Linked DNA regions of Homo sapiens: region 2 is linked to region 1. The links are contacts of gene promoters, found by promoter capture Hi-C in blood cells and fetal thymus (Javierre and others, 2016). All regions are on one chromosome and are shown on one strand. Each heading gives the region's core, a stretch centred on a gene start or on the middle of the fragment in contact. The rest is flanking DNA. Distances are from core to core; before and after follow the strand shown.

Region 1 (3,125 bases), core at 357-2,856:
CAAGTTAATTAACAGCCATTTCTGGGAACCCTGTCCAAAGAAATAGTTTTCTTTATCTCCTATGGTAGGAATTCTTCTGAAATAGACAAGACCCAGGGCTCTCCTCTCAGGCAACCACTATTTTGAAATGTTTTTGGGGGGACTATTATTGCTACTCAATGTAAAATATTAAGTGAGATGTCAATATTTTTCAACATATCATTAGGAATTACAGTTTGGAGGCCTTAAGTTCTATTTTTGAAGCCCTTTTAGCCAGTACTGACTGGAAGCCCTGTTGAAATCAGAAGTCTTCATTTCATATAGGGCACACTCTATTTGGAGTGAATGTGATGAAATGTTTCCATGCAAATTCCTACAAGCACTTATGCCTTTATCTTTGTCCTCATAAGCCACATTATACTACCTGTTGTGTATTTTAAAACCCTGTATGATTTTTAAAACTTATCTTTCAATTAATATGTATAGATTTTCTGTCAATAATTTCTTATTCTAATTATGTGGTGGCTAACTGAATGAAACATTTATGGTTATGATATAGAATATTCTAAATACAACTACAGACAATATGGATCATAGATAAAGTAAATTATTGTTTTATGGCTCCAGTGGTTCTTCCTGGTAATTAATAAAAATAAACAGTTATTAAATATATACAGAAAAACAGCAATCTATCAAGCTTATAGAACAATTAAGAATATATAATAATCTTTAAATCAATAAATTAAAAGGTAAACATTTAATATAAAATGAATATATTAAAGGATAAAGAAGTAGCATATTATGGAACATATAGAGATTATTTTATTTTTTGAAGGTTCAACCTCTTTTAAATGGTTAGTATTGGTGTTCTTTTCTCTATGAAAACAGATTTTAGAGAAAAATGATAGTGTATTTCACAAAGCCAAACACCTCTATATTGTTATCACTCCCTATATGCATGGCCTCTCTAAAGCTGTTAAATAAAAAACTAAAGCACAAGAATGATAGTTCCAATTTCACTATACATTTATGTTTAAAAAATACTGGACACACTGGGCATTTAAATAGATGACATACAGCCAGGAAACTCATTAGACTAGCTTTAAGTATAATAAAAAATATTTTTTCTGAATACAATTAATCATAAGCATCTACAAAAACACAAGACCATTGATGCCTAGTATGTACCATAAATCACCATTTCCAGACAGGCTCTATTTTCTTTGAAAGATAAAGAAATAGTAAGCAGTTTACACATCAAACGATGCCTTTGGTTCCTGTAATTTACATTTAAACAACACTGGGTTAAAAATAGCAGCATGAAGATGATTTTAAAGTAAGGAAAATGACCTGGTAGCTAGGTTCTATGGTGCAGATAATGAAATGTTTTGTCAGCTTACCTGATAAAACAGAGCCTTATGAATTACAGCATAACAAAGCCCAGCATCCAAGATGGTTAGGGTATAACGTGTCTTCCTCTGCAGCTGTTCAGCTTTTTTTTTTTTTTTTTTTTTTGACCACAGAGGTTTACAAATTAGTTACAATTTTTTTTCTTTCTTTCTCTGTGGATAAGAAAACAAAGAGACCTTTCCAGAATCCTCTCTGCTTATGCCTCCGCTTCCTGTTCTGAGATTCACTCTATGGTACCCAACATATATCAGAAAACAGCTTTGAGGAAAAAAAAAAAGAAAGAAAAAAAGGCCGATCGCACTCAAAGTGGTACCGCCATCTACTGGCGGACACACACAAAATTGAGCCAAAGAAAAAACATTCCCATTATCCTCTGTCACAGGGAGGAAAGTAAACCTGCATGAAGCATGGGTAGTCATGAAAGTGCCCCAAGATGACAGTAGAGAGGTGATGTGAGCTAAAATTTCCCAACACACTAAAAAAATGTAACTTATCTACTACATATAAATATGTATGAGACCTTTTACATATTCAGTTATTTGCATCTCACTAATTTTTTTAAAAAATTTTATCACTTTGTTGTTTTGCATGATTGTTTCACACATAAACTACTAAAATTAAAAGATATATAAATTACTGTTTGAAAAATAGGTTTTAAGTTTACATTACCCTTTACGTGTAGAGTTTTGCGAAAGCTCCCTTGTGGCCTGCTCTAGTCTTTTGAAAACCTTTTCTCTTCCTGGGATGAATTATTTTCAAGGTGAGGAATTTGACTCCTTAGAGAACAGTGTAAACACATACTCACTGATAGTATTTTTGTGTTGCTTTCTGGTAAAACATTTGCAAGAAATATCTAAATGTAGAAAAAGATTCTATACATCAGTGAACCTAGCTAATATTATTTATTAGGATATTGAAGCACACAATACATAAAGAAAATAAAAATAATCCATCAGTTATTAAGATATTTCTCAATCCAGATGTATGTTATTGTTTCATCTGACCTTTCATATCTACTTTAGAGCAAACAACTATGATTTTATTACAGTTTATCATCAATTAAATAAATACATTCATATTGACAAACCAACTGTATGGATGGACAAAAATGATGTCAAGTATTATATTAGACTTGAAAAGACACAGAGAGAAACACACAGTGCCTGCCATAAAGGAGCTCATACAAAGAAGAAAAACAAATATAGCTGATACCATATTTCCCAGCCATGTGTTCAAGAACTGTTAATTACATACTTCGTTTTCAATTGTGGCCCCCATTTTGTCTAATGGCAGAAAAATAAATCTAGTCAGTTCCAGGTAAACTAAATTACTTGAGGCTTTTCCCAATGATTTTGGGTTTGCATTCAACCAATACATGATTTTCCTCTTCTATCTCTCCTTCTCATGGAGACTGATCTAAGTTCAGGATTGTGTACATATATAGAGAAAGCAGAGTATGATCCCGTTCCCCCTTTCTCCACATGGGCATCCACTGAGGCCAGGAGTCCTGCATGATCCATGACCATCATTATCCCTCATATCTACTAACGTACCCACAGGCCCACTGGGCCCCGGGAATAGCATCCCTCCAGCTTTGCATGGCAGCATCCCCTCTTTGTCACTTCTTCCTCTAAGGAAACTTTTGTTCCTGTCCTTTAGGAGGAGAGAAGAAAAAGCAGCATGTTCCCAGGGTCACTCTTGGCTGTAATTGGCTGACTTAAGCCTTCCTCCCTGCC
Region 2 (2,909 bases), core at 91-2,590, 740 kb after region 1:
ATCAAATATTTATGTAAATCAATAAATTCAATGTTTAAAAGCAGTATGATTTTAAGTATTTCCTCGGTTCCACACTGTTTGAAAAAAATCAAATTTAAAAACCCTTATGAAAAAAATTCACAGATGTCGCTTTTTCTCAAAATTATAACCAAATCCAAAGAGACTTGTGTCATCTTTTATTACTTAACCTTTGTGCTGTCTCAACTGTCTGGTCCCAATCCTGCAAGGCTAGTTGTAATTTCATTTTCTTAACAAAAGCAGGAAGGAAGCTCGGAAAATTCACGATTATCTGGTTCACAGTCTCCAGGGCACCTGAATAATTCTGGCGCATCTCAAGGCATTGTGCCTAATGGAAGGGAAAAAAAGTGATATCCAAACTGTGATCTTTCATATCAAAGTTCTCATAACGCAGAGCAGGCAGAGTATGAGCGTTTAATACTTACTTTTCTGTGAGGAGCAGTTATCACTTTTTAAGTTTTTGTCAAAACAAAATTTTAAAACATCACAGAATAATACAAATACATTATATAAGCTATTGTGTTTTAAAATTTACTTTTAAATGGCTGAAAAACATGATTAAAGGATAAAATTTTTTAAAATGTTCTCGGAAATACCATAAAATAATGTTTCCATTTAAAACAAAATTATCTTTTTAGATTAAAATGTTTCCAGGAAATTTTCAAGTAGCATCTAAAATTTTAAGAAATTTTAGAAATTTTGCATCTTTTTTAAGAAATTATTTTCAGGTTAAAGAATATATGATTTTAAAGAACAAGCAAAATACAGTTCAAACAAATCCCTCTACTTCAACATTTTTCACTTCTATGAATTATCTGAAGGAAATAATTGGACAAGACCACAAGGAAGTATATAGATGATATTTATGGCAGAATTGTTTATGTATAAAATAATCCCAAATGTACCTAGAGGAGAAAATTATAGTATATCTAATTTAATAAAATGTTAAGTAATCATTAAAAATGATGATATAAATTTGTAGACGTAGATTTACTGACATGAAGAGATATTATATATAATAGTTTAACTGGTTATTTCCAATGGTGATGCTCATTTTCTCATTCAGATGTTATTGTATTTTCTGAAAAAAAGTTTTACTATGTTCATGTATCTCATAGTCAGAAAAAATAAAGCTATAAATATAGTTAGTACATTAAAAAGAGATGATGAGGCAAATTTTTATCAACTAGCTTTTCTTTAAGAGAAGGAAAATGATCAAGAAAAGTATATGGCCAATTTCTTCAGCAGTGCTATTAGGTAAAACTTGAGGGTAGTGGGCCTGAACACAAGATGTTCAACAGGCTTACTGTCCACACAAAGTGACAGGAAAAGTGATGTGGAGACATTAACAAAAGTCAAGACATGAATCCTCTCCCCTTCTTTTTTATCCCTCCAAATTACTGCTTATCTAGCAGACTTGTTCCCAACATATAATTTCTTTTTGCTGAGTCAAAAAAAAATTAAGGCATTTAGATAGCATCAATGGGGATTGAAGAAAGGGTCCTACTTAAATATTTCCATCCATCAGTAAGTTCTAATGACTCCTTCAATTGCTCATCCCTCAAAATGTATGTCCGATCATGTTATTTCTCTGTTCAAAACTTTGTATTGGCTGCCTGTCTCTCTAATAGAAGGTAGAAGCCAAAGGCCTTACAGAACAGGCCAGGCCCACCACTCCTCCTCACCCCCATCCCACCTTTCTTCCTCAGGCCTTCACTTCTGTTCTCTTTACTCAACCCACTTTGGCCTCCTTGCTAGCCCTGAATACACCTTAGGGTACCTGAACTCATCATCTCCTCTATTTGAAATACTTTCCCCAGATGCCTGCAGGGCTTTAACCCTCACCTCCATAAATGTGTTTGCTCAAATGTCACTTTCTCCGACCACTTCATGTAAAACTGGAAGTTCATGCCCTAGCTTTTCCAGCTGTATTTTCCATTATACTTATCACCTTCTAATATACCATATAACTTACTTATTTTGTTTATTGTCTGCCTCCATCAGTAGGATATAAGCTCCATAAAAACAAGAGGTTTTCTCTTGCTCAGGGTTTCTAATATCTAGAGGGATGCCTCACATACATAAGACACATAATAAATGCTGAGGAAAGAATGTGTGAACCAAAACAACAACAACAATTAACAGTTACAGCTGATCCAGGATTCAGGAACTCTGGCAGGGAATACATTTCTCTAGTGTATTGCTCATTGTCCTACACAAATGCCAGTCTACCTTACAGCTGTGAGCTGACAACAGTATCATGAAAATTATCAACTTTTTTGAGCTACTTGGTTTTGTCAGGTTTCAAATATATTATGAATATATTTTGAAACATGATTTATTTACCCTAACTCCAACTCACCTTACCCAGCAGAGCAAAAGTATCATTCCCATCTTGGAGTCCCTCTTCAAAATACTTCAGTGCTTTTTTAGTGTAAGGCTCTTTTCCTCTTGTAATATCAAGCCATGCTTTCAAAACGTGTCCCTGTAAAATGAATAATTCTATTTTTACTTTTTTAGAAATGAGAGAAATAAATGTTAATGAAAGAGCCTAATGTCATTTTTCTGGCAATTAATAACAAAAAGGACTCTATCAAATATGTTATGAACAATAAAATTCTGTTAGTGAAATCACTTTTGAACCCTTGCCAGCCTAGTGTCTTGGGAACTATACTACAAATTTCAGCCTTTAACATTACTATTAAGCTCAATATTAAAATTAAGAAGCTTATCAAATATTCCATTAGTGTTAAAACCATTATTTTCTCTGAGACTTTGCTAGTAATTGACAATTAATAACACTTAAACATGAAATTCAATATATAGATGAGAATTTGTTGTTTCTTTTTGGACAAACCGTCTAAATGAACTAAGATGAAATAACAGAAGAA

The links. Contacts are between HindIII fragments. The CHiCAGO score rates a contact against its expected background, and 5 or more counts as called.
Region 2: a contact is called between a fragment that was not itself captured here and the fragment with the promoter of SCN3A in region 1, in 1 of 17 cell types (total B cells). The highest score is 6.5, in total B cells.

What each region holds. Positions count from the first base shown.
Region 1 is chr2:165,202,444-165,205,568 of GRCh38, forward strand. It overlaps SCN3A (sodium voltage-gated channel alpha subunit 3), which reads right to left and starts at 1,607. Exons shown (of 28, transcript NM_006922.4): 1 at 1,380-1,607. The HindIII fragment of the contact is 4,908 bases long and covers 675-3,125 here.
Region 2 is chr2:165,940,839-165,943,747 of GRCh38, forward strand. It overlaps TTC21B (tetratricopeptide repeat domain 21B), which reads right to left. Exons shown (of 29, transcript NM_024753.5): 5 at 2,381-2,503; 6 at 189-346. The region is part of intron 1 of TTC21B-AS1 (TTC21B antisense RNA 1); the gene reads left to right. Among named protein-coding and RNA genes, the nearest start is that of TTC21B-AS1, 8.4 kb to the left of the region's middle. The HindIII fragment of the contact is 2,806 bases long and covers 1-2,743 here.